Linked DNA regions of Homo sapiens: regions 1, 3, 4, 5, 6 and 7 are each linked to region 2. The links are contacts of gene promoters, found by promoter capture Hi-C in blood cells and fetal thymus (Javierre and others, 2016). All regions are on one chromosome and are shown on one strand. The core of a region is centred on a gene start or on the middle of the fragment in contact, and the rest is flanking DNA. Distances in the headings are between cores, read along the strand shown. Region 1 holds the start of SUDS3 (SIN3A corepressor complex component SDS3). Region 2 holds the start of RBM19 (RNA binding motif protein 19). Region 3 overlaps UNG (uracil DNA glycosylase). Region 4 overlaps MVK (mevalonate kinase). Region 5 overlaps RFC5 (replication factor C subunit 5). Region 6 overlaps KCTD10 (potassium channel tetramerization domain containing 10). Region 7 overlaps WSB2 (WD repeat and SOCS box containing 2).

Evidence for each region. Contacts are between HindIII fragments. The CHiCAGO score rates a contact against its expected background, and 5 or more counts as called.
Region 1: the fragment with the promoter of SUDS3 here is called in contact with the fragment with the promoter of RBM19 in region 2 in 5 of 17 cell types (naive CD8 T cells, total CD4 T cells, naive CD4 T cells and 2 more); the score reaches 11.7 in naive CD8 T cells.
Region 3: a contact is called between a fragment that was not itself captured here and the fragment with the promoter of RBM19 in region 2, in 1 of 17 cell types (activated CD4 T cells). The highest score is 5.2, in activated CD4 T cells.
Region 4: a fragment that was not itself captured here is called in contact with the fragment with the promoter of RBM19 in region 2 in 1 of 17 cell types (neutrophils); the score reaches 5.0 in neutrophils.
Region 5: a fragment that was not itself captured here is called in contact with the fragment with the promoter of RBM19 in region 2 in 2 of 17 cell types (non-activated CD4 T cells and naive CD4 T cells); the score reaches 8.5 in non-activated CD4 T cells.
Region 6: a contact is called between a fragment that was not itself captured here and the fragment with the promoter of RBM19 in region 2, in 1 of 17 cell types (fetal thymus). The highest score is 5.5, in fetal thymus.
Region 7: a contact is called between a fragment that was not itself captured here and the fragment with the promoter of RBM19 in region 2, in 3 of 17 cell types (non-activated CD4 T cells, total CD4 T cells and total CD8 T cells). The highest score is 6.4, in non-activated CD4 T cells.

Annotation. Positions count from the first base shown.
Region 1 is chr12:118,374,669-118,378,589 of GRCh38, reverse strand. SUDS3 (SIN3A corepressor complex component SDS3) reads right to left here and starts at 2,035. Exons shown (of 12, transcript NM_022491.3): 1 at 1,757-2,035. The coding sequence starts at 1,898. It overlaps LOC124903031 (a long non-coding RNA gene), which reads left to right and starts at 2,463. Exons shown (of 2, transcript XR_007063480.1): 1 at 2,463-2,634; 2 at 2,799-3,292. RefSeq lists silencers at 1,639-1,788, 1,819-2,038 and an enhancer at 1,480-1,980. The HindIII fragment of the contact is 4,103 bases long and covers 1-2,875 here.
Region 2 is chr12:113,965,075-113,968,866 of GRCh38, reverse strand. RBM19 (RNA binding motif protein 19) reads left to right here and starts at 2,542. Exons shown (of 24, transcript NM_016196.4): 1 at 2,542-2,675. The coding sequence starts at 2,640. RefSeq lists enhancers at 2,236-2,305, 2,264-3,191, 3,192-3,792. The HindIII fragment of the contact is 5,534 bases long and covers 1,646-3,792 here.
Region 3 is chr12:109,098,845-109,102,598 of GRCh38, reverse strand. It overlaps UNG (uracil DNA glycosylase), which reads right to left. Exons shown (of 7, transcript NM_080911.3): 3 at 3,315-3,410; 4 at 600-697. Among named protein-coding and RNA genes, the nearest start is that of UNG, 3.1 kb to the right of the region's middle. The HindIII fragment of the contact is 392 bases long and covers 1,714-2,105 here.
Region 4 is chr12:109,589,879-109,593,822 of GRCh38, reverse strand. It overlaps MVK (mevalonate kinase), which reads right to left. Exons shown (of 11, transcript NM_000431.4): 8 at 2,962-3,052; 9 at 2,466-2,582. Among named protein-coding and RNA genes, the nearest start is that of MVK, 18 kb to the right of the region's middle. The HindIII fragment of the contact is 8,311 bases long and covers 1-3,944 here.
Region 5 is chr12:118,018,248-118,022,062 of GRCh38, reverse strand. RFC5 (replication factor C subunit 5) reads right to left here. Exons shown (of 11, transcript NM_007370.7): 2 at 2,927-2,991; 3 at 2,295-2,431; 4 at 1,078-1,157. Among named protein-coding and RNA genes, the nearest start is that of RFC5, 3.5 kb to the right of the region's middle. The HindIII fragment of the contact is 6,314 bases long and covers 1-3,815 here.
Region 6 is chr12:109,467,213-109,470,956 of GRCh38, reverse strand. KCTD10 (potassium channel tetramerization domain containing 10) reads left to right here. Exons shown (of 7, transcript NM_031954.5): 2 at 1,229-1,442. Among named protein-coding and RNA genes, the nearest start is that of KCTD10, 8.2 kb to the left of the region's middle. The HindIII fragment of the contact is 1,107 bases long and covers 709-1,815 here.
Region 7 is chr12:118,047,962-118,051,661 of GRCh38, reverse strand. All of the region lies in intron 2 of WSB2 (WD repeat and SOCS box containing 2), which reads left to right. Among named protein-coding and RNA genes, the nearest start is that of WSB2, 11 kb to the left of the region's middle. The HindIII fragment of the contact is 8,916 bases long and covers 1-3,700 here.

The DNA.
Region 1 (3,921 bases), core at 786-3,285, 4.4 Mb before region 2:
GAACTGCTTGAACCCAGGAGATGGAAGTTGCAGTGAGCTGAGATCGTGACACTGCACACCAGCCTGGGTGAGTGAGTGAGACCCCATCTTAAAAAAAAAAAAAAAAAGATTACTTACAATATCCAATAAAATGTAAATACTATGTAAGTAGTTGTTACGCTACACTGTTTAGGAATAACAAAAAAAAAGTCTGCACATGTTCAGTACAGATCCAATTTTTTTCCTGAATATTTTTGAGCTGCGCTTGGTTGAATTCACAGATGCAGAACCCACAGATACGCAGAGCCAACTGTATACAATAAAAAAGGGGAATCTGACACAAATAAATATTTTCCAAGTTACAACTAAAGGGAACAAGGAGGAGGCCAGATGATCAAACGAAAACTGTTTCAGAACATCTTAAACATTGTTCTTAGAACAAGCTAATGGCTGGGGTGTGTACAAAATTTTAATAGCCCCTATACTGGAAGGAAAAAAAAACTCAATTTTGGCTCCACAGCGCCCCCTCGTGGGTATGAGATGAAGTGCAAGTGCTTCACATTCAAAATCTCTGGTTAAGCCGTGTCTTCTGATGGAATTAAATCGAATGCAGTCCCTCAACTTTGTATGTCATGCATATGCAGCTGTCTTTTGTAAGGCTGTTGCAGATCCAATTCCCCACAAACCCTTCTCCCCTCCTTCAGTCAAGAGGCCTTCCCTGAGTTCCTGTCATGGTCAGCCACATTACTTGGCACTCGGGAAACTCAGATGAATAAAACGTAGGCCCCATTCCAAACAGCTGGTCTAGCTTTTGCTCCACGGCCCGATTTTGTCCCAGAATATTCCGCTCATATATCGGTCTCTCTTTGTTTCCTATTTCTCCTCCCTTGATCTCTCACATTTCATCACCTTCCTCCTCCTCCATCCCTCCAAAATAGCGTTCCTCACACTTGCCAAATTATAAAGCCCAGTTTGAAAAGCAAGGCTCTGAGACTCTGTGATGACAGTGCAAAGAGCGTGGGACTGAAAACACAACACCTGGGGACCATTAAGCAAATCTCTCCCTCTCTTACCTGTTTCCGGGAGGGGGGCGGGTGGGGAGAACATTTACGGAGTATTTACAGTACCAGGCCAAGTACTTTATGCGCATGTCATTTAATCCCTATACCGACCCTAGGAAGTGCCTTCTAGGGCAGGTGTGGGAATTAAACAGCTCCATTACAGTTGGGTAAATCGAGGCTGGAAAACTTAAGTTTACAAAGCTGAGTTAAGTGACAAAGCCAAATTTAAACCTGTATCTGGCTGGTTCTAGGTCCCTTTCCTTTAACCAACCTGAGTTCTCAATAGTGTACTACCTAAAGTATAGATGACTTATGCATTTCGGGGGTGGGGAGGGGCAACTTTGGACTCTGATGCTCTCACACACAAAAAAGGGGCGAACTACACTCGATGTATTCAGTAAATGAGTTTCTAATTCCTACTAGTGAGTGAGGTTCAATCAGAAACGGCTGGGAGGGAGGACGGGGTCTTAAAGGGACCCCCAGCGTGACAACATCTAAGTCCCCTCTCCCCATCACGGTCGAGTGTAACGCACCCAGGGCTTCCCCGCTACTCCAGCACGGATGGGGGTAACTTCCCCGAGCCCCGCAACTCCCGGCGGCCCCTCCACGCAGCCCCAGGCCCCGGAGGCCGCCCCGCCCCTCTCCCGAACAGCCCCACCCCCTCCCCCAGCGGTCCCACCTCCGCTCCGGGCGGCCGGGCGAGCGGCAGGACTCACCTTCGTCCGACTCGCGGCCCCGACAGCTGCGCTCGTCGTCCTCGGCGCTCTCCAGCTCTTCATCCTCCTCGGGGTAGTACTCGGGGGCCGGCGGCGCTCCAGCCTGGGCCGGGGCCGGGGCCAGCAGCCCCGCGGCACTCATGTCGCCTCTGACCGCAGCTGAGCGTGGCCCACGGACACCGCGGCCACCCGCGCTCGGTACTCGCCGTCTGCCTAGCAGTGTCCGCGGCAGCCCCCAACTCGAGGACCGGCAGCCACGGCGACCCCTTCCCCGTCTCCGCCGAGCTCCGCCCCCCGCGCCCGCGCTCGGCAACGGGGGCCTCGCGCCGCGAGCGACTTCCGGGTCGAGAGCTGCCCGACAACGGCCTGATTCCGCCATCCTTGGGGGAGTGGAGATGCCGCTGGACGCCCCCGTCGCCACAACCTCAGCCCTTTCATCGCCGTCTTAAAATCCTCAACGTATAGTGGGGGAGGGGCGGAGCCAGGTTCGCTAGAGTCAGGCAAATCTACGGGCAGGCCCAGCAGCGGTCAGGACCCCGAGGCTCGCAGGCGACTTCCGGAGACAGCCGCCAGGCGGCGCCTGGAGCTAGAACTAAAGCGGTGATCGTTAGCGACCTAGGGGCGGAGGGTTTGAAGGGCCCTTGGCAGGTGGAGGTGGTCTCTAATTTAAGCAGGGAACGACGCGACCTGCCCCCTTATTAGGTCGGAAAACCTAGACGTCCAGAGTGTGCGTGATCATGCAGCCTGGCTCCTCCTGTGACTAGTTAGAGCTTTATTAAGAGCTAAAAGACAAGGATGCTGATATTCCATCCTGGGGACAGCAAAATAGTATTTTCCCAGCCCTTAGGAATCCTTTCTGTTTGTGTAAGGTTTATTCGGTAAGATGTTCCCCCGGTTTTACAAATGAGAAACGAGCTGTCGTTTGCCTAAAAAAAAATAGTAACGTCCAGTCTGATTTTTTAGACTCCGAGACCCAGGCCCTCCGCGGTACAGCTGCCTTGAATATTAATTTTTTAAAAGGTGCTTTTGCTTAATCCAACAGCTTGCTCTGAGCTCTCAACTGAAGAAGGGGAGAATTTGCCTACCAGAAGTTATTTGGCTAAGGCCCACGTGGAAGCTTAAAAAACAGGAGAGCTGAGTATCTGCAAGAATTAATTTGTGCGATTCCCTCTGAGTAGAAAAGGAACACGGTGTTATAAGTTTTGCTGAACGAATAGATTTAAGGTGTCCCTTTAGCTAAGAGCAATGTGGTCTAGTTGTGTGTAGCGAGAAAAAAGGGTAAGGTTTTTAATGGTTTGTCCAAAGTAGCCCCACTTTTATGTTCCACCCGAGTCTCCGTAGGAAACGCAACCAGTAGTGAAAATGAACAGATGTGAAAACCAGGGTGGAACCGAATATTCCCATTCTCAGACCTTTTGTGATTAAATTTATCTCTGAATTGTTCCCTATGGACTCTTCTGAAAATGAAACGTTATTCTCATCCCACTTATTTTGACATTTATTTACTACCTTGTTTTAATTAAAATCTTGGCTCTATTTGTAAGTGATTTTTTCTCCCAACAAAACTAAAGAATTTCCAGAATGGAATGCTAAGATGTCTTTCCAGGAGTTCTGAGATCTTCTGAAGCCCCTTCTAAATAAGAATCATTCTCAGATCGCACCGTAGGTCTGCCATCTATATTTAAACTAGGATTCCAGAACTGTCTCTTGTCCAAAAGATGAAGTCATTTTCTTTCTTTGTGCTGTTGGAGAACATCTAAATTACTTGCAATCAACTATATTGAGTAACTTGCGTTCCTGTCAGTAGCAGTAATCATAGTGCAGAAAAAGCAAAGATTTTAGAAATCAAGAGTTCATTGATACAATTAATTTTTAAGTTTATTTCGTTGCTAAATGGTTTCCTTTCAAGACGCTGAGATTTTTATCCTGCTTATGTTTTACTGCTGTCTTCTTGACTGCAAACAGCATCTGTTAATGGTCATGCATTTCTTTTTTATATGTAATGAATAGACACAACTGAGCACTTGGGTTATGAAAACTTACCCCATTTTTTTCTGTCCAGATTGCCAGCTGCAGAACTAAAAAATGCTCTTTAGTGAAGGTGGACCTACTCAAAAAAATTCTCTTATGGCTTTAGTCTTACCTAACCTTTAGATTTATTTAAT
Region 2 (3,792 bases), core at 1,293-3,792:
GTGGTGAGGGGACAGGGGATCATTCATCCCACTACACTGCCCACCCTTCTGTAAATAGCTTTTTGTCCAGATTTGCTTTTGTTAAATCCTTTTGAGTATACCTCTGTGTCCTGCTGACTGATGCATTTCCTTCAAAAACATTTATAGCTACATACCTACCGTTTTTTAACAACTGCATAGAATTCTGTTGAATGGACAGACCTTAATTTACAATTAGCATTTAATGAACTCCTATTACCTGTCTCCTCCTGGTGCCCAGTGTGATGCTTTGCAAAGATGGATCTAAGGATGCCCCTATGGCAACATAATGTAGAAAGAACAAGTGGCCTCATCTATAACTCTGAACCTACACTGTGCGCTCCTCACCAGCGAGTTCTGTAGGTTTATGCTGTGGCAGATGCATGAGCTCCCTGCATTTGGGGCTCAGTAGGAAAGAGGCATATTCGAGGATGCCATGTTTGAGCTGGTCTTAGAGAGGGGATGGGAATGGGTTCAGAAAGATATTCCAGTGGCCAAAAGCACATGAAAGATGCTGTTTCATTAGTTATCGGGGAAATGCAAATCAAAACATTGAGTCACCACTGTACACCCACTAGAGTGGCTATGATTATAAAGACCCAATAACAAACACTGGAGGAGATGTGGAGATATTTGAACCTTCATATACCGCTGGTAGGAATATAAAATGGGGAAGCCACTTTGGATAACAGGTTAGCAGGTTCTAAAAAGGTTAAGCATAGAGTTACCATATGATCAGGCAATCCTACTCCTAGGAATATATCCAAGAGAAATAAGAACATATGCCCACACAGGAACTTACAGGTAAATGTTCACGGCAAGATTATTCACAGTAGCCACAAAGCGGAAACAACCCAAATGTCCATCATCAACTGATGAATAAATAAAATGTAATACATCCATATATGTAATACTATTCAGCAAAAAAAGTGTGGTGGCTCACGTCTGTAATCCCAGCACTTTGAAAGTTCAAGGCAGGTGGATTGCTTGAGCCCAGGAGTTCAAGACCAGCCTGGGCAACATGTTGAAACCTCGCCTCTACCAAAAAATTACCAAAAAAAAAAAATTAGCCAGGCATGGTGGCATGTGCCTGTAGTCCCAGCTGCTCAGGAGGCTGAGGTGGGAGGATGGCTTGAGCCTGGGAGGCGGAGGTTGCAGTGAGCTGAGATTGTGCCACTGCACTCCAGTCGGGGTGACAGAGCCCGACCCTGTCTCAAATAAATAAACAGATAAATAAAGTGCTGATTCATGCTGCAACATGGAAGAACTTTGAAAACATTATGCTAAGTGAAAGAAGTCAATTACAAAAGACTACATATTGTATTATTCCATTTACATGAAATGTCCATAACAGACAAATCCATAGAGACGGAAAGTAGATTAGTGGTTATCAGAGGGAAGGGAGAGGGAGGAATTGGAAGGTTATAGCTAAAGGGTGTGGTGTTTCTTTGGGGGTAATGAAAATGTCCTAGCATTGATTGTGGTGATGGCTGCACACCTCTGTAAATATAGTCAGCACCATTGAATTGTGCACTTTAAGTGGGTGAATTGCATGGTTTGTGATAAAGCTGTTAACAATAAGAAGGGGGGACGGAATGTCTTTTAGGTGAAGGAAATTGCAGAAGCTTGGCAGCAACGTCCAGTGCAGCTGAGGCACTGTGGGGAAACAGAAAGGAAATACCGTCATTTAAGAGTGAAAATAGGGGTTTTCATAGGATGTCTCCATCCAAGAGTAGGTACCGAGAATGCTCAGAGAAGCAATAGGAAAATAACATCCCTTTCACGTTCTCACCTCCTTAACCCCTAGCATAATAAAGAATTATTCCCATTTTATAGAAGTAGACACAAAGGCTCAGAGGCCATTTTGGCCAAGATCTCTCAGCTAGAAGATTGGCCAGCTGAGAGTTCCAAACATTAGGAAGGGAGGCAAAATGCTTGTGGGGCTGGGGTTGAAGGCGTAGAGACTCATTGTAGGGCCCTAGGCAGTCCCTAGCTCGAATCTGACTTTCCAATTCATAGTTATAAGACTTTGAGCAAGCTGCTTTACACGCACGATTCCCAGTTTATCTGCCTGCAAAATGAGAGCGTTTATTTCCAACATGTTCATTCCAAGTATTTACACAAAAGGCTCAATACTTGATTTGTGTTGGCTGGCAATCTCTCTAAACTTCACTTTCCCCATTTCTACGAGGAAGGCAAGGGTCCCTAATCTTGCCCCCGTTCTCAGGGGAGTCCTAAGGCTCAATAATAAAAATAAAATAAGAAAAAGGAGAGAACGCGATTGCCCGGTTGGCGCGACCCTTAACACCGAGCTAAACCGGCGCATGTTAGGGACCGGCGCCCCCTGCCGCCTTCTCCGCTGCATTGGCGTCTCACAGAATCCGCCCAAGGCCCTGCGCCTGCGCAAAATGCAAGCGCCCAGGCCCACCCCTTGTGGGGTGTGACCTCCCTGAGTAGTTTTGGATTAGCCACGCCTACTTCCGGACAGGTCAGGCCAAGGTCTCAGCCACGTGACTGTGTTCCGGCTCGGTAAAGATGGCGGCGCCCAGGGCGGTAGCGTGAAACTTGGTGGAAGACGCTGACCAGTCGTGTTGGAATCAAAACAGCGGGGACCCTGCGCCATGTCGCGACTGATCGTGAAGAATCTCCCGAATGGGGTGAGTGCAGAGGCAGGACTTGGGAATCTGAAATGAGACCAGCCGGGAGCTGTGAGGTAGGGAAGAGATGCCTGGAGGTGATCGAAGAATTTTTGCTCTGGGGCAGGACTCCGGGCCAATTCTGAACTCAAAGGGGGCGGGATCCTGGGCTTATCCCCATTTGATCCCGAGGAAAGAGGAATAGTGACTGCTTACGGTTTCACGGCCGGTTGTTTGGTACCTGACTCCTAACACACCTCTTCTCGGGGAGATGACAACTCCCACCTTGTGGCGAATACCCTGCTCCCACAACCTCTTTCATTCGATCACTGTTTTTTAGTTGTTGACCCGGGACATGGTCCGACACTGTATTTATATTCCTCTCCCAGTCTGGAAACTGTTGGGGAAGACATGGGGAATATTAATCTGCGGACCTGCGTTCCAATTCCCACTCCCATCCTTAGGGCAAGTAGGAATACGGAGTGGGTAAAGGGCTTTACAGCATTTATCCAGTAAGTGGGGAGTGGTGACCCAGCCATACTTTTTTGTTTCCCTGGAGCCCAGCGCAGAACCCGACACGTGGTAGGCAAAATAGGTGAATGTACGTAATATTAGATGATTAGATGCGGTGGGCTCGAATGGATCATCCTTTTTTCTCTCTCTCGCTGTTTTTTGTTCTGTTTTGTTTTTTTGTTTTTAAATGGATTACTGCTCCTTCCATCAGGTTAGACAGTGTCTCTTGATGCCTCGCTTTGTGGGATGAGGATTTTTAGCGTAGCTGCACTTCCTTTCCCTCCCAAATTCAGCTTTGTTGTGTTTCAAGTGTAGTTGATTCTCTTATCATTGTTTGTCTTATCTCTTTTTTTTCTCTCTCTTTCATGGCTTTTTTTGGTTTTGTTTTTTGTTTTTTTCTTTTTTTGTTTTTTTTTTTTAAACGGAGTCTGGCTCTGTCTCCCAGGCTGGACTGCGGTGGAGCAATCTCGGCAGTCTCGGCTCACTGCAACTTTTGCCTCCCGGGTTCTAGCGATGCTCCTGCCTCAGCCTCCCAAGTAGCTGGGACTACAGACACGCGCCACCAAGCCCGACTAATTTTTTTATTTTTAGTAGAGACATGGGGTTTCGCCATGTTGGACAAGTT
Region 3 (3,754 bases), core at 660-3,159, 4.9 Mb after region 2:
GTAAATCAACCCAGCAGTTACAACCCAGACCCCCACTGTTGCTCAGGGACAGTTTTCTGTCCTTAGCATATTTATGTATATCATACACCAAATCCTCCAAAAGCAGTGGTTCTTTTTTTTTTTTTTCCAGTCTTGCTGTGTCACCCAGGCTAGAGTGCAGTAGCAGGATCTCGGCTCACTGCCACCTCCGCCTCCCGGGATCCAGCGATTCTCCTGCCTCAGCCTCCCAAAGTGCTGGGATTACAGGCGTGAGTCACCGCGCCCGGCCCAAAGCAGTGGTTCTTAACCAGGGGTGATTTTACGCCCCCAAGGGACTTTTGGCAATGTCTGCACATTTTTCATTATCACGAGCTGGGGGTTGCTCCTGGTTTCCAGTGGTAGAGGCCAGGGATGTGGCACAAGATCCTGCAATAGCACAGGACTCCTCTCCTCCTCCACAACAAAGAATGACTCAGCCCCAAATGTCAATGGTGCTGAGGCCGAGAAATCCTCCTCCAAGGCTAGTGAACAGTGCCCCAGATAGTCCCACTTGTAATAAGCTAAGTACACATCTGAAAGGAATCATGTCTGGACTGCAGTCACCTGTAAAGCAACTGTACCTGGGCGGAGGCGGAACAGGCCTTTGAACACTAAAGCAGAGCCCGTGAGCTTGATTAGGTCCATGATATGGATCCTGTCCCAGGATGACAACCTTCACCTGTGAACCACCAGGGGTCAGGAATTAAACAATACTGTAATGTAAGCAGCACAGACCCTGCCTCAAACAAACATAAACAAAACAAATAAAACACTTCTATGGCATAGATTGCTAATAGCAGAGTTGCTGGTCAAAGGCTAAGCGTATTTTAAACTTGTAAAGATATGTACCTAGCTGCTTTTTTAATTTTTTGAGACACGGTTTTGCTGTGTTGCTCAGGCTGATGTGCAGTGGTGCCATCACAGCTCATGGCAGCCTCGCCCTCCTGGGCTCAAGTGGTCCTCCCACCTGAGCCTCCAGAGTAGCTGGGCCCACAGGAGTGCACCACTATGCCCACCTAATTTTTTTTTTACTTTTTGTAGACACACGGCCTCCCTTATGTTGCTGAGGCTGGTCTCAAATTCCTGAGATCAAGGGATCCTCCCTCCTCGGCCTCCCAAAATGCTGGGATTACAGGCATGAGCCACTGTGCCTAGCCCCCAGTTACTTTTCGATGAATTAAAGCAATTTAGGGCCTGGCATGGTGGCTCACGCCTGTAATCCCAGCACTTTGGGAGGCCGAGGTAGGCAGATCACGAGGTCAAGATATCGAAACCATCTGGCCAACATGGTGAAACCCCATCTCTACTAAAAATACAAAAATTAGCTGGGTGTGGTGGCGCACACCTGTAGTCCCAGCTACTCGGGAGGCTGAGGCAGGAGAATCGCTTGAACCCAGGGGGTGGAGGTTGCAGTAAGCCGAGATTGCACCACTGCACTCCATCTCAAAAAAAAAAAAAAAAAAAAAAAAAAAAAGCAATTCAGATTTCCCACCAGCAGCATATGAGGGTGTCTGCTCCCCTATATCCTCTAACAGGTGGAGCCAGAAGAGAATGAGGTCAGATCAAAAGGGCCATGGGAGTAGGTGGCAAGAGACAATGAAATGAAATGAAGTTCCTGTCACGGGAGGTGTTGAAACATAGGCCGCCTCGTCCTTCCCATCCAGGGCCCACCCACCTAGTCTTCATTCTCAAGCTTCTGCCATTGCGTTCTTAGAATCTTCCTCCACAGCTGACATACTCTATCTTTCAGAATCCAGCTCCAGATGTTCCATGACCAGGAGGCTTTTGGGGACCTCTTGTCCCTCCCCTTGGTGTTCACACCATGCCAACATATTCTCTTGTGAAACAACTCTCCCAATGCTGGTCTGTCAAGAAGCCCTGCTGGCCCATCTGATCCTCATAGGTTTGAAACTGGTTTTTGAGCATTCCCTCAAAATATTCCTTTTAATATTCCCTGTTTATACTGATTACTGGTATTCAGAATAGGGCATTCAAACAAGAAGCAAATTAGTATTGATCTTAATAGGATTTAATTTAGCTTCAAAACCAAAGAGCTAGATTCTAAATTCTTACTCTAAAATTAAGCTTACGAGATTTTCTAAGTATTAGGTGTGGCTGCCTTATCAAGATGATTTATTCACCTATTTCACTTCTATGTCATTTCACAGATATTCATTAAATCACAAGATTCTTGCCCCAGTTTACAAAACGGGGGAGGAAAACGGGTAAGAAACCTAAAAGTCCAGTGTCAGCAGGTGCTAAATGCATCGTAGCAGCTCAGAGGAAAACTGGATCACAGAGGTGGCAGGCAACGGACTTCAATTCAAGGAGGTGCCACAGAGGCATCTACTTGATTTTTAAGAGACAGAAGTGGGGAGGGGTTTGCCACACTGTCCAACTCTGGAGTGGGAGAGTGGGAGGTGGAGGTAAGGCTGAGAGGTAGGACGTGGCCCTATTTAAAGAGGGTTGCTCTGCTTTCATAGTTCAACAGTGAGAAGCCACGGTTTTTTTTTTGTTTTGAGACAGGGTCTGGCTCTGTCGCCCACGCTGGAGTGAAGTGGTGTGATCTCAGCTCACTGCAACCTCCGCCTCCTGGGCTCATGCGATTCTCCCACCTCAGCCTCCCAAGTAGCTGGAATTACAGGCGTGCGCCACCATGCCCGGCTAATTTTTGTATTTTAGGAGAGACCAGGTTTCATTGGTCTTGAACTCCTGACCTCAAATGATCCTCCCACTTTGGCCTCCGAAAGTGCTGGGATTACAGGCATGAGCCACCGTGCCCAGCCCCACGAACTTCTGAACACAAGATGGATGAGAGCCGCCAACCAGCAACTGTTATATAAGACAAACTAAAGCAAAGGGATCTGATAACAGAACCACAAAACTGTTCAGGCCAGAAGTCAAGAGCTTGAAAGTGCTAACTATAAGGCAGTGTGGTCAGGTCAAGGTGGGGTTGACTATAACAAGCTGCAAAAGATTTAACTGCTTTGTGTGTCAGTTTGAACTTCACCACCACCATAACATCTGACACCGCGGGAGGTTAGTTTCAGGATTTAAAAAAAATACAAGAAATAAGAGCACAGGATGTACATAGTTTTCCTTTTTGCCACATAAATACCACGTGGTAAACATTAAAAAGAGTAAATACAGGCTGAAATACAGTCAGCCAAACCTCGGGATTTCAGTGTTTTATTTACTACTGAATGATGGACTGTGGCTTAACTCCAGTGTCCCTAATTTAAAAATACTATTTGACTCCTTCTCCCCAATAAAAATTATCAACAAGTTGTACTTACATCTTTTATGTCACACATCTGGGTCCAGGTGAAGACTTGGTGTGGGGGTGGATAAACAGTGTAATGCTTTCTTTCTTCTGCAACAAATCCCATTAGCTGATTTAAAGATAAACTAGACTTAAAATCAGATTCTCATTGGAAACCATAAGAATTCAATAAGAAAGCTTCTAGTGCAAGTTATTTGGAACATCATTAGTTCTTTGTCATGTTATGTCCAAATTCTTTTAAAAAACAACAAACAAAAACAGTGCCTGCCCCCCCACCTAAGTGGTTCAATCAGGTCAATTCCTTGCCTCTTTCTCTGGGCTGGGTCCTGACAGTGCCACTCCTCTCGGCTTTTTAAAGCTCAAGCCAGGTTTCATTCAGGATGGTTGGTGATTTTACTACGCCAGCCTTTCCTGGACAATAGACTATGTGACTTAAATGAATCCATGATATCA
Region 4 (3,944 bases), core at 1,260-3,759, 4.4 Mb after region 2:
TCATTTGAACCTGGGAGGATGCAATGAGCCAAGATTGTGCCACTGCACTCCAGCCTGGGCGACAGAGCAAGATGACTCTGTCTCAAAAAAAAAAAAAAAAAAAAAATCTGCTTCTTTGCCCTGAGACGAAACAAGGTGAGTTTTCTGTTCAATGCCTGGCACGAGATATGTGCTGTTAGTATTTTTATGGGTACGTTAGCATCATCCCCACTTTACAAAAGGGGAAACAGAGGCTCAGAGAAGAAGTGACTTGCCCACGATCACTGAGCTAGTAGGTACCAAGCTGGCACTGGAAGGCGGGTCTGCCTGACATGAAGCTCCTGTCTACCCTGCCTCTGAGAGCACCCCCTGGCATTCCTCACTTCCGTGTGAAGCTCTGTTCCGGGGCACCTGGATTGCCTGTATACCAGGAGTTGCCAATCACTGAGGCATCTCTGCGGAGGCCCACCTAGCTCTCCCGCATGGGGATGGCCGGTCAGGCAGGGTTGGAGTGGCCCTCCCCAACAGCCTGCCTCATACCTCGCTCTGCGCCAAGCTCACCATTTTTGACAAATGAGCAGACAGGCATGATGGCCTGGTGGCAGCCCCGGGTGCCTCTCACCAGCCTGATGGGCTGGATGTGAGAGAAGACTTCTGGGGGCCGCTCTCTGCGCCTGAGCACCAGGTGTCACGTTGCCGAGGCAGGTTCCAGACACCTGTCACATTCTGATCCAAAATCTGTCAAGGATCAGATGACAGGTTGTGACACAGGAGAACAGTTCGCTGGTTTGAGTGCAAAGCTGTCCAGGAGCTGAGCTGCACATTTCAGCGGCTGCCACAGCCAAAAATACACACAATGTATAATCAACGTGCTGTTCTGTGGCATTCTCCAGGGACTCGACAGGGTGTATTTTAGGCAGTATTCTATCATTATTGATTTCCTACTCGGGGGGACTGTGTTCCCTCCTTTCTATGTGGAAGGAATTGAGAGCTAGGAAGACAAAGACTGAGGGAATGAGGGCCGAAACACAGGAATTCGATGGAGGCGCTGCCCTGGCACATAGTAGGTGCTCATGACAGATCTGTTGAATAAAGGGACAGACCAGTCCGTCGGCTGGACCCCTGGCTCGGCCACTCACTAGCTGGATAACCTTGGGGGAAGTCTCTCTTCAGGCCTCAGTTTTTACATCTGTAAAATAGGGATAAGACACCTACTTCACAGGGAGGTGGGTGTGAGGATCAAGTGAAAAGAATCATTTGTAAAAGGCTTGCTTTAGTGGCAGCTTCCACTCAGCACAGGGGCTACAGACTCGAATGCCCACGGGGGACCGGGAGACACCAGGCAATGACTACAGAGTGCGGGGCGCGGGGAGGGACTGTGGTGACATGGAGACCGCACGCCCCTCTCCTGTCCCTTCACTGACGGCTGCTGCACAGCCACGGCAGCTAGGGGCCACCCGATCCTCTCATTCTGCAAGGGCAGCCAGATGGCTAACAGCCCATATTCACCAGGCCAGGTGGACTGTGTCCAGGGGGAGCCTGGGCTCTTTGGTTCCCTAAGCTCATAGCACACCAGACATTGTGCTTGCGTGTCACCCATGAGACTCCAAGCATTTTTTGTGTGTGTGTGAGACAAGGTCTCATTCTGTCGCCCAGGCTACAAACTTGACCTCCTGGGCTCAAGTGATCCTCCTGCCTCAGCCTCTCGAGTAGCTGGGACTACCGATATGTACCGTCATGTCTGGCTAACTTTTGTATTTTTTGTAGAGACAGAGTTTCACCACATTGCCCAGCCTGGTCTCGAACTCCTGGACTCAAGCAATCCACCTGCCTTGGCCTCCCAAAGTGCTAATACTACAGGTGAGCCACTGCGCCCGTCTAATCTGAGCATTCTTAAGACACTCTAGCGAGGCCACACGTCCAGCAGAAGTGGAGCTGGGATTCACACACAGGCCTGATCACACCCAAAGTACCAGGTCACAACCTCTACACTAGAATTATGCAAATGGCAGTGGATGGGGTTGCAATGATGAAAAAACAATGTTAGGATCTGTCTGACCCAAAGCAGGCAGTTGACAAGTAGTTGTTGAATGCACCCATGAAGTTAGCAATAGCAGGAGAGTGACCAAGAAGTCACCCCTGCACCGACAGAGCACTCTGCATCAGCCACATCCCCATCTACCTACGTGGGCCAGAGCTCCTTAGAAGTGACCCAAACCTGTTTCCATTGCACTTAGCACGAGCCAGGCCCTGGCCTCCCTTGCACTCTCCCAATTACTCGGAATCACCCAGGAAGAGGCCTGAAAATAAGATACGCTTATATGGCACGCACAGACCTGGGCCCAGCTGAGAGCATAGGCCAGAGGCAGGTCCTGACCTCTATGTGCTAGCTTCCGGGGGATTCTGAGCACAGCCAGATTGCAGAGCCACTGCCTTGGACAGTGGTGTGGACTCAGTAACCCCGGTTCCTGCAGACAGGCTCTTACTTCCAGCACGAGGTACTGCTCCGGGGCTGGGGCTTCCCCCATCTCTCCCAGCACGCGCTCACACTCCAGGGAGATGGCATCTATTGAGGTCAGGAGGGGGGCCACGATCTCTGGGAACTGGAGAAAAAAAGAAGGAACGGCTGGTGAGGCCTGGGGGCAGGCAGATGCAGGACAGCTGCCCCAGCAGTGGGGTGGAGGGAGGAGGTGTTCACACAGCCCGTGCCCATCCTCTGGGGAAACCACCTCTCTTCTGAGCCTGTTTTTTTGCCTTCCCAGCTGCAAAGTCAGTGTGTCTAACGAGCCCGACCACTGTCATTTTCCTGGCCAGGCTACGGGCACGGACGGTACCTTCTTTTCTGCCAAAACCACCTCCCTAAGGGCCCCCACCACCCACCACACCCCCTATAACCCATCAGCCAGAGGGAGACCTCGAAAATCCAGATGTAATTGTGTCCTGGCCTTCCTGAAACCTGCCCAAGAAGGGAACAAGAGTCACCTTGAGCAGCCTGTTTCTGACGCCAGCCACAAGGGCCCTGGTATTGCGAGGGACTTTGGTGTTGGTCAGCAGGATCTGGAGAGCTGGCGACCTGCAGGGTGAAGAGGAGGCAGGTCCACACTGAACTCAAGATGGAGGAGCTGGGACAGGACTGGGAGCAGTCCGGGAAGCCGCCCACCCTGATACGGAGGAAGAAGGGAGGCACAAGAGGTGACACTGGATTGGGGGAGCATGGGGCTTCTGCTGCTGGCCACAGCTGCGCCTCCATCCCAGGCACTGGTTGGGTGGCCATTCTCCCTTGGCTTTTCACTCATTTATTCATTCAACTTCAACTGGGACCTACAACATGCTAGGCACAGCGTGGCCTTGGGGCCGGGGCCAGAGAGGGGATAGGGGAGAAGGGCCGAGAAGGTTTTTCTGGCATGACGTGGACACTGAGAACTGAGGAAGGGTAAGAAGCCACCAAGCAAAGCTAGAAGGGTGAGGATTTCTGGCAGTTGGAGCAGCCTGTGTGAGCCTGGAGGTGGCGGAACCCGGCACAGTCATCCAGTGAGAAATTCAAAGTGGCTATAGCAGAGTACAAGGAGGGGGCGAAGGTTCACTTGTGTGGGTCACCCCCACGAAGCTGGAGTTTTAGAAAGACCAAGCAACAGGCCCTGAAATGGATCACACAGAGGGAAGATGCCCAGGCTAGCTGGTGCGGGCAGTGCCACGCACGGGCTCGTAAATGCAGGGAGGGCAGGGTTGCAGAGGAGGATGGTCCCCAGCACGCTGAGCCCATTCTTGCCCTACCTCAATGGTGCCCGGACGAGCAGCCCTGGTCTAAAACCAGATGTAGAGTCAGTCATCCCCTTGGCTGCCCTCTGGCACATAGACGTGTCCCAGGCAGCCACGTTGAGCTGACTCTCTAGCATGACCCCGTGGTCCTCACCTGCCCCAGAGGAGCTGCATAAATCCCTCCTAAAGCCACAATCCCAACTGTC
Region 5 (3,815 bases), core at 1,211-3,710, 4.1 Mb before region 2:
GTGTCCTCTGGCATCTTCACTTTCCTCCACATGGCACCCTACCATGCTACTGCTTTTCCCGTCTCCCTCACTCATGCCTGAGTCCCTCACCCTTTTGCTTTTTTTGAGACTAAGTTTTTGCTCTGTTGCCCAGGCTGGAGTGCAGTGCCGCGATCTTGGCTCGCTGCAACCTCTGCCTCCTGGGTTCAAGCGATTCTCCTGCCTCAGCCTCCTGAGTGGCTGGGATTACAGGCGCCCACCACCATGCCCAGATAATTTTTGTATTTTTAGTAGAGACGAGGTTTCACTATGTTGGCCATGCTGGTCTTGAACCCTTGATCTCAGGTGATCCACCTGCCTAGGCCTCCCAAAGTCCTAGGATTACAGGTGTGAGCCACTGCGCCCGGCCCTCACCCTTTTTCTTTCTTTCTTTTTTTTTTTTTAGCCACCATCCTAGTTGTCCTTCCTGATCTCAATTTATTTTTAAATTCAAACTAGCTCATCCAGTCTTAGGGTAATCTAGCCAGTTCTCAGGAACTAAAAATGAAGTTAATGCTCCCTAAAGAACTTGGTAATGCAGGCTGGGCTCACGTATGTAATCCCAGCAGTTTGGGAGGCTGCGGCGGGCAGATTGCTTGAGCTCAGGAGTTCGAGACCAGCCTAGGCAACATGGCAAAACCCCATGTCTACTAAAAAATACAAAAATTAGTTGGGCGTGATGGCTCACGACTGTAGTCCCAGCTACTTAGGAGGCTGAGGCTGGAAGATCGCTTGAACCCAGGAGGTGGAGGTTGCAGTGAGCCGAGATCATGCTACTGCACTCCAGCCTGTACGATACAGGGCGACCCTGTCTCCAAAAAAAAAAGAAAAAAAAAACAAACTTGCTAATACAAGCGTAGATAACATTTTATTTTAACAGTTGCATTATAACGCTTCTTACTACCATCCCTCTCGTTTATCTCTTTTCCATGGTTGCTTTGGACAAAGTCACTTTTTTTTTCAACCCATATAAACTGGCTAAGGAGAGGATTAAAAAATTAACCCATATCATCTTACTAATCAAAATCAAGGGAGCGAAATTACACAAATAATTCTTACTTAAATATTGTCCTTGTGCTAGCAAAGCTCAGGATCGGTCCTCGAATGATGTCTATTCCTCGGTCATCTGAAGCATTCAGCTAAATGTGGAAGACAGAAGACAAAACAAAAACCATGTTGCTGTGCTATCTGTGAGTTCTTGGTGTTAGTGTATTTCCTCATCAGTCCAGCTCAGCAGGCTAGCTCTCTATGTCTAATGATGGCTAAGAGATCATCATAAAATAAAAAATCAGTTTTACACAAAATTCACTAAATTAATAAAGATGGCTATATTACCCCCACCCTTTGAGGACAATGACTGACATAAATTGGAGAAATAATTAATTGGTATGGTTACACTGAACAGCACCTCTGGTATGAGCAGAATGATACAAATTTCAGCTACCACAATCCTAAGTTACCAAGTTCTTAATAAACTGAAATAAGGACATTAGTAGCAGCAAAGTTCTGAGACCTGCGTCTAAAAAGTAAGTTAAACTTTTCTTGCAATAGACAATACTCAGATTTTTGAATCTAAGTATATTAGTCAAGGTCCCAGCAATATACAGATGGCATACTCAAATGCAGCAATTTGAAGAGAATTAAACAAGATCTTTTTAAAGGTGTGATATAGGAAAACCATGGGGCTATGCAATACCTGTCACCCTTGAGCCTGAAGGGCTTAGTGAAGGGAGTGGCTGTAGGCACCTGGAGAGGGCTGCAGGAAAGGTACCACCTGTGAGATGTACCCTACAGGTGGGCCATGCTGCCAGCCTGTGTCAGCCCCCAGGGAAGGCCCAGGCATCACTCACTTCCTTCCCCCACCCCTGCCAAGGCCCCTATTGGCCAAACCCAACCAGGAGCCAGAGGGTAAGTGAGCTTATAGTCAGTAGGGCTCAGCCTTCCAGGCAGGAATATGGTGGAGAAACGTGGAGAATTGATCTAGAGGGGCCATGGCAGACAGGCAGCAACCAAGTCACCATAAAGTAAGGTTTGGGGAGAAGTTGGCAAGAGCAAAGAAAAAGGTGCCAAACCCTACAACTGCCCTCTAGCTGACCAACGCTAATCCAGACCAAAATGACCATTATAGGAAAAAGGGAATTAAAATATTCAAATTTACTTCTTTCCTAACTGTCCGTGGGGCAACTTACTTTTAAAGTAAAATAAAACCAGCAGAACTGAAATTAAGAGACTGGAGTCTCTTAAGTTATTTGTAGAGTAAGAACAATCTTATTTACCTCCAAGACCATGGAGCCAAATTCTTTGTCTTTATATAGCTGTTTCGCACAGGCTAGGATGGTAGATGTCTTGCCTGTCCCTGGGGGACCGTAGAGAAGCAAGTGTGGCAGTCGGTCTTCATTGATAAACTTCTGAACTGAGGATCAGGAAGGAAGAAGGGCACCATCAGTCTTTGGGAGCTGCCTCATTCACCCTGGGCTCCTGAGTTGGGCTGAAAGCTCTTCAACCCAATTCAATGTCCAAATCAGAGGCAGATACAACTTGATGTAGGGGCCTCATATCTACTTTCGTGGAACAACTGGAATTCACTCAATAGCGCAGCCAGTCAACAAGTATTTATTGAGTGCCTACTGTGTTACAGGCACCTTTCTGGGTGCTGGCAACATCTGTGAACTTAAATGATTCTCCGTAATGCTATTTTTACTCCACTGTGTTGCAATTTTATGCTCATGTTTGTGACTTACCCACTGGACTGTAGCAACCTGAAGAAAATGAATGAATGATCTTAAAGCCACATTCTACAAAGCGCAATCAGATTCTTTGAAGTTATTACTTAGGAGAGACAACATCACCAAGCAATTTATACAAGTCGCTCAAGCAGGACAAGAGCAACTGACACATGAATACTTACTGGTACTCAGAATGTCCTGATGAGAAATGAGATCATTCAGGGTCTGTGGCCGGTATTTTTCAACCCTGAAATACAATTTAGTATGTATTATGACATATATAAATGCAAGAATATTTTATGTGCAAAAGAATCCTTGCAGGTCAGGCACAGTGGCTCATGCCTGTAATCCCAGCACTTTGGGAGGCCAAGGTGGGTGGATCATTTGGGGTCAGGAGTTCAAGACCAACCAGCCCGGCCAACATGGCAAAACCCTGTCTCTATGGGTACCTCCTAGGGTCTTTGTAAGGATAGAACAACTAACAGGGTGTCTGCTAACCCGATAATATGCCATTCAATAAAAAATACCAAAAAATACAAAAATTAGCTGGGCATGGTGGCATACCCCTGTAGCCCCAGCTACCCCGAAGGCTGGGGTGGGAGAATTGCTGGAACCCGGGAGGCGGAGGTTGCAGTGAACCGAGATTGCACCACTGCACTCCAGCACTCCAGCCTGGGCGACAGAGTGAGACCTTGTCTTAAAAAAAAAAACAGAATCCTTTCATATCCTAATTTAAAAAGGAAGAATAAGAAAGCACTTTAAGTTTGAACAGACCAGTGGTTCCCAACCACAGGTGATTTTGTCTTCCTAGGAACATCTAGTGATATCTAGAAACATACTTAGTTGTCACAGGTGGGCAGAGGGTCCTATGGCACTCAGTGTGTAGTCTCCAGGAATGCTGTTAAACATGCTACAGTGCACAGGACAGCTCCCCTAAACCCACCCAGAGTATCTGGCCCAAAATGTCAATAGTGCTGAGGTTGAAAACTCTGTTCTAACTTCATCTTTCCAGCTGTTTGCCTATAATCTCAACCTGATGGGCACCTACTATTGCAAAGTGCATTTGAAACT
Region 6 (3,744 bases), core at 13-2,512, 4.5 Mb after region 2:
GACAGTTCAGAGAAGTGGGGCTTTGCTCTGTGTTGGATGCTGCTGGGAAGCAGGGCTAATTCTGTGATTGGGTCTCAGTGATTCCTGACTTGAAAGCAGGAAGAATGGAAGGAGGCTAAACCTCTCATTGGTAAAGCAGCAGCTATAACTCCTATTAGCCAGGATAGGGGATCTTTGGTCATTTTTGTATTTTGGATAATGTTTATGTTTTTGTCTGTGTCCGGACATGATGACTGAATGGTCCTGTTTTTGTCTTGTCGCAAGGGCACAGAGTGGCCTTGTCTGAGGGTGATGTGCTGTGAAAAACTGTTGATGTTCAATGGGAATGGTAGGGCCAGCCGTGGGGGCTACCCCAGATTCAGCAAAGATTCTGCCCACCCTTGCACATCTCCACCTCTACAGTTTTACCTGTTCATTTCAGACATGTTTGCTCTGAGTACACATGTGCCGGATACCAATCTCACTTTCCAGGCCTGCGTAAATCAGCCACTGTATCCATTTCTTTGAGATGTACAGAGAGTCAGCCATGCTATCAGGGAGATGGTAGTGGGATCTTGCTCTTTTGGGCAGCACTAGTCTAGGAGGTCTAATTTTGCAATAACTTGGTTCCAAAAGTTTCCATGTCTGTTGTTTAGTCCTCAGAAACACCTTCTCCCTACAGGAAGTGATAGGAGTGCCAGCTGGAATCCCATTCAACTTCATAAAGCTTATTTCATCTGTGATGCAGCTGAAAAATGACACTTAGCTAGCTATTGAGTGGTACATGGCAATAAGGAAATGTAAAGAGACCTGGGCAGTGCTTTAGGCTGTTTTAGGGTGCAGCCAGGGTGTTCATGTATACAGGTGCTAGGCAGAAAGGAAGTGCTTATAACACAAGAGTTAGGGGCACCCTTGTGCCTGCAGGGTCGACAGGCAGGGTCAGTGTATGAGGCTTTTTGGGTGGGTTTTGGGACAAACTAGGGGATGCATGGCCCTCTCTAGGGGTCATCCAATACCCCAGCTCTGACCAGTTGTTCCCCTGCTAGCCCAGTTGGCCTCTGATTTTAGGAGAAGCCAGAAGTCCAGATTTTTCTGTGAGCTCTCCTTAGTTGTCCACATTGGAAGCAAACTTTTAAATGCTGTGTATGCGTGGCCCAAGCAAAACACATCTGGAGGCCAGATTGAATCCACAGGCTGAAAGCAGTCAACCAGGCCTGATGTCATGACCCTGTATCCTCTCCACTGGCAGGAAGAGATGTCAGGAGAAAGTGTGGTGAGCTCAGCGGTGCCAGCGGCTGCTACCCGCACCACTTCCTTCAAGGGCACGAGCCCCAGCTCCAAATACGTGAAGCTGAATGTGGGTGGAGCCCTCTACTATACCACCATGCAGACGCTGACCAAGCAGGACACCATGCTGAAGGCCATGTTCAGCGGGCGCATGGAAGTGCTCACCGACAGTGAAGGTAAGCTCACCCACCATGTGCCTGCCTCTGGCCATGCGTTATGTGGTCAAGGAGGGCTTCCCTGAAGAAGTGACATTTAAGTCGAGACCTGAAGATGTGTAGGAGGCAGCTTGTTGGGGACTCCCACCATCTTGACTTGGTCGTTGATTTGCTATGTTACTTTGAGAAAGTCACTTCCTCACCCAGGGCTTAGCTTGCTTATCTCTGCCATGCTTCTGTGACTTCAGAGTGAAACTCAAGCCTGGGGGAGAGAGAGGTATCTTCCCTGGACCCTTGTCCTCCCAAGATGGGGTCTTGACAAAGACTTGCCAACCTGGGTTTCAGTCTCAGCTCCCCATTAGTATCTGGTGATCCTAACCAAGTGGCCGAAGCTTTTGGTCTCATTTTCTTCCTCTGGTGAAATGGGCATGACAATACCCTCCCCCGTGGGGCCATCGGCACATAGTCAGTATTCAGTGCATGTGTGTATATGTGTGTGTGTAGATAGATAGATAGATATACACACACACACACACGTTTTTCTTTTTCTTGTGGAAAGTCATGTTATTAAAAGGCAAAGAATCGGCTGGGCACAGTGGCTCATGCATGTAATCCCAGCACTTTGGGAAGCTGAGGCGGGCGGATCACGAGGTCAGGAGATCGAGACCATCCTGGCTAACAAGGTGAAACCCCATCTCTACTAAAAATACAAAAAATTAGCCGGGCGTGGTGGTGGGTGCCTGTAGTCCCAGCTACTCGGGAGGCTGAGGCAGGAGAATGACGTGAACTCGGGAGGCGGAGCTTGCAGTGAGCTGAGATCGCGCCACTGCACTCCAGCCTGGGCGACAGAGCGAGACTCCGTCTCAAAAAAAAAAAAAAAAAGGCAAAGAATTGTTGAGAGGGGCATTGTCATAACTACTTCCTACTCACCTGGAATGATCAAAGAGCCCCTGACAACAGGGCTCCATCCTTACCTGGCTGGGTTTGCGTGCAGGTCACATGAGGTTTAAAAATAGTACCATCCTTCATTCCTTGGCCTGAGATTGCTTAAGACCAGGCCAGGGCACAGCCTGGCTTGACCTTGACCCCGCCTTCCTGTTTCTGAGACTGGTCTTCTGTGCTGCTGCCCTACCTTTCCAGGGACATTGACTTGGGAGGGTGGGTGAGTTTTCACATAAGCGGGTGGGATTGGGGGACCTAAGCCTGGTGTCCCACAGTTAATTCTCTGATCCTAAGAGGGCTGAGGCTTGGGCTACCCACTGGTGAGGACATTCCTCTCTGTGTCCTGGGGAAGGCCAGGGTGTGGGGCTGGAGGTTCTGCTTCCTGTGAACTCCGGTTTCTGTTCAGGCAGCAGCGAACTGAGGTTGGAGCCCCAAAGCTGCCATCTCACACTTAGCTTTTTATGAGTGGGAGGATCCTCTTTGCTGTGCCACACCCCACATGGCCCGAGAGTATCTGTGGAAATCAAGACAATAGCACCCCCGCTGCTGGAGGAAGCAGGCATTATCTGAGAACCAGGATTGTTGTGGTTTTTCTCATACCCTACCCACTCTCTGGAGGGGCTCAGGAAAGGCTGCTGAGTTGCCTCGAAAGCTGAGGCTCTTCTCCTCGAAAGGCCTCGCCTTGGTGGCCTGATGCCATATCAAAAAAGAAACGGACTCCTCTGTCCCCCTGTCCCCGACTGGACAGAGCATACGAGTGGTACTGGCAGGACTGCTCACCTTCTAAATCCCTGCTATGAGATGTTTTTCTCCTGGTGCTGCCTGGAAAACACAGGTTCTCGGGGGACACAGTGTCATTTTGACACTGCAAACTGTGACTTGTTTCATGTCACCGGAGCTCAGCCCCTGCTTCATATCATTATGAAAAGCTAATGGTATGGCATTTTATGGGGCATTCTTTTCTCTTTTTTTGAGACAGGGTCTTTCTCTGTCACCCAGGCTGAAGTGCACTAGGGCCATCATAGCTCACGGCAGCCTCCATCTCCTGGGTTCAAGCAATCCTCCCGCCTCAGCCTTCTGTGTAGCTGGGAATACAGGCATGCACCACCAAACACAGCTAATTTTTAGAATTTTTTTCTGGAGATGGGGCCTCACTATGTTGCCCAGGCTGGCCTCGAACTCCTGGGCTCAAGCCATCCTCTCACCTCAGCCTCCCAAAATGCTGGGATTACAGGCGTGAGCCACCACGCACAGCCGATGGGTATTGTTTCATTTAATCCTCACCATAACCCTTCGAGGGGTGGATACTGTTGTTGCCATTCCAAGTGAGGAGTCCCCATTTCAGAGGTGAAATGCTTTTTCAAAAGCTGATGGGACTAGA
Region 7 (3,700 bases), core at 1,176-3,675, 4.1 Mb before region 2:
TATTTCCTCAGAAAGAAACCCTGTACCCCTTAATTTAGATCCCCCAACCCCCCTGCACTCTCCAGGCAACCACTAATCTACTTTGTCTCTCTAGATTGGCCTATTCTAGACATTTCCTATTAATGGAGTCATACAACACGTAGCCTTTTTTGACTAGCTCCTTTCATTTTACATAATGTTTTCACAGTTCATCCGTATTCTAGCATATACTAGTATTTCATTTCCTTTTATTGCATCATATGGAGATGCCAAATTTTGTTCGTACATTTATCAGTTGATGGACATTGGGTTGTTTTCATGTTTTGGTTATTACAAATAGTGCTGCTATGAACATTTATAGAAAACCTGTGTTTTCTATGTTTAACTATTTGAGGAGGTGTCAGACTGTTTTCCAGAGTGGCTGCACCATTTTACTTTCCCACCAGCAGTGGATTCAGGTTCCAGATTCTCTACATCCAGCCGTTGTTATTGTCTGTCTTTTTTTATTATCCTAGCAGGCAGCCATCCTAGTGGTATGAAGTGGCATTTCATAGTGGTTTCGATTTGCATTTCCTTGATGGCTATGGATGTCAAGCGTCTTTTCTTTCTTTCTTTTTTTTTTTCTTTTTTTGAGACAGAGTCTCACTCTGTTGTTCAGGCTGGAGTACAGTGGCATGATCTCAGCTTATTGCAACCTCCACCTCCTGGGTTCAAGCAATTCTCCTGCCTCAGCCTCCCAAGTAGCTGGGACTACAGGCACATACCACCACGCCTAGATAATTTTTGTATTTTTAGTAGAGACGAGATTTCACTATGTTGGCCAGGCTGGTCTCAAACTCCTGACCTCAGGTGATCCACCTGCCTTGGCCTCCCAAAGTGTTGGGATTACAGGTGTGAGCCACCACACCTGGCCGAGCATCTTTTCAGGTGCTTACTGGTCCTTTGTATACGTTCTTTGGATAAATGTCTACTCAGAGCCTTTGCTCGTTTTTGTCTTTTTATTATCAACCAAGTTTATTTTATTCATTTATTTTTTTTGAGAGAGAGAGAGGGTCTTGCTCTGTTGTCCAGGCTTGAGTGCAGTAGCTCAGTCACGGCTCACTGCAGCCTCAACCTGCTGGTCTCAAGCTATCCTCCTGCCCTAGCCTCCCAAGTACCTGATACTACAGGCGCGCCACCATGCCCAGCCAACTTTTAAATTTTTTGTAGAGACAGGGTCTTGCCTAGGCTGGTCTTGAACTCCTGGCCTCAAGAAATCCTCCCGCCTCAGCCTCCCAAGTAGCTGGGATTACAGGTGTGAGCCATGGCGCTTGGCCAAGTTTAGTTTCTAATACCAGTTTTTCTTTCTTTGGGATGGACAAGCCCCAGTGTCAGAATGCCGTGAGCTCCCATTCAGATGGCCCAGCATCTGTATGTTTTCATTTGTCCCAGGGCAACTCTATGTCTGTATTTATTCATTCAGCCAGCCTTGGTTGCGTAGTTTCTTTTTTTTTCTTTTGAGATGGAGTCTCGCTCTGTCGCCCGGGCTGGAGTGCGATGGTGCGATCTCGGCTCACTGCAACCTCCACTTCCCTCCTGCCTCAGCCTCCTGAGTAGCTGGGATTACAGGCATGCGCCACCACCCCTAGCTAATTTTTTTGTATTTTTAGTAGAGATGGGGTTTTACTATGTTGGCCAGCCTTGGTTACATAGTTTCTTTGCGTAACACTGAGTTAGGGACTGAGAGTCGTTAGATAAATCAGACATGGCCCTTGCCCTTGAGGCTTTCATTTATTTTTCTTTAAGCATTTTTTATAAATAACATTAGATTTAAGGTTTTTATAAGTTGGATATGAAACTTGCCTTGATAAGAGGGAATGTTGACAGGAGTTTGTTGAGATGGGTACTCTGCATGCTGCTAGAGTTGAGGGGGATAAATTTGTGCAGTTTTTGGAAGGAAGCCTGGCAAAATGCATCAAGGACCTGAAAAATGTTCTTCTGGGCTGGGCGCGGTACCTGATGCCTGTAATCCCAGCACTTTGGGAGGCCGAGGCAGGCAGATCACTTGAGGTCAGGAGTTTGAGACTAGTCTGGCCAACATGGTGAAACCCTGTCTCTATTAAAAATACAAAAAGTTAGCCAGGTGTGGTGGTGTGCACCTGTAATCCCAGCTACTCAGGAGGCTGAGGTAGGAGAATCGCGTGAACCTGGGAGGCGGAGGTTGCAGTGAGCTGAGATCGCGCCACTGCACTCCAGCCTGGGTAACAGAGCGAGATTCCATCTCAAAAAAAAAAAAATCTCAGAAATGGTGTCATCTATTTATATACACTGATCTTCATCATGAAATTAGTTGCATGTTAAGAAAATTGGAAACAGTTTGAAATCCAGGGATGAGAGGATGGTTACGAAAATTTTACCATTTCCATATGATATTTTTGCAGCCATCAAATTTTGTTATGTGTTTTTAATCAGAGTTTTCAGTTTCTTCTGTGGTCAGTTTAATGATAATGCCAAGGTCATACATTGTTTACTAATTCCCTACCTGAAATACAAGGGATGCACCTTCATTTCTAGACTTGACATGTAAGTAAATTTACTATATGAATTATAAATTCTATAGTCTGCTCTTTTTAAAAAGCACAACATGGAAGATCTGTCAGTTTCCTGAAAATCACTCTTGTTTTCAAATTTGTATAGATAAATATGTCTTTTTTCTGTCACATGACCTAGAGCTGCTCCCGGGTAGAAGGAAGGGCCTGGGCTTGCATCTCCCTAAGGGCACTGTGGGTGGCTCAGGGTCTAGTGTGGAGCATGTGTCGGTTGGGGAAAGCTCCTTTACTTTAATTACTGGTATCAGTAAATGAAAACAATAACAATTTTTTTTTCTGAATCCTATTTCTGAACAAACCATAAATTTAAATCCTATTTCTGAACAAAACATAAATTTGTATAGATGAATATATCTTTTCACTATTAGCTAAGGAAAATGAAAAAAGGTATTTGAGTATTAACCATTTTTTTTCATATTTATTATTTAACATAATGAGCAAAGTGTTATTGTTTCATATGTTAAGTGAGAAGTTACTGGTTTTGGAGAAAAATCACATTTTTTTTTTTTTTTGAGAGAGTCTTGCTCTGTCATCCAGGCCAGAGTGTAGTGGCGCATCTCGGCTCACTTTAACCTCTGCCTCCTGGATTCAAGTGGTCCTCCTGCTTCAGCCTCCTAACTGGGATTACAGGCGTGTGCCACCACACTCAGCTAATTTTTTTGTATTTTTAGAAGAGACAAGTTTTCACCATGTTGCCCAGGCCAGTCTTTGACTCCTGGCCTCAAGGGATCTACCTGCCTTGGCCTCCCAAAGTGCTGGGATTACAGGCGTGAGCCATTGCACCTGGCAAAATCACATATTTTGAAGAACAGTATTCTGAGGAAATGTTTGCAGTATGAGGCTTATTGAAAAAAAACAGGCTATATGGCCGGGTGCGGTGGCTCACGCCTGTAATCCCAGCACATTGGGAGGCAGAAGTGGGAGGATCACTTGAGGCTAGGAGTTCTAGATCAGCATGGGCAACGTAACAAGACTTGGTTTCTACAAAAAAGTTTTAAAAATTAGCCTGGCGTGGTGGCAGGTGCATGTGGTCCTAGCTACTCAGGAGGCTGAGATGGGAGGATCACCTGCACCCAGGAATTAGAGGCTGCAGTGAGCTCTGATCATACCAGGCCACTCCAGCCTGGGCAACA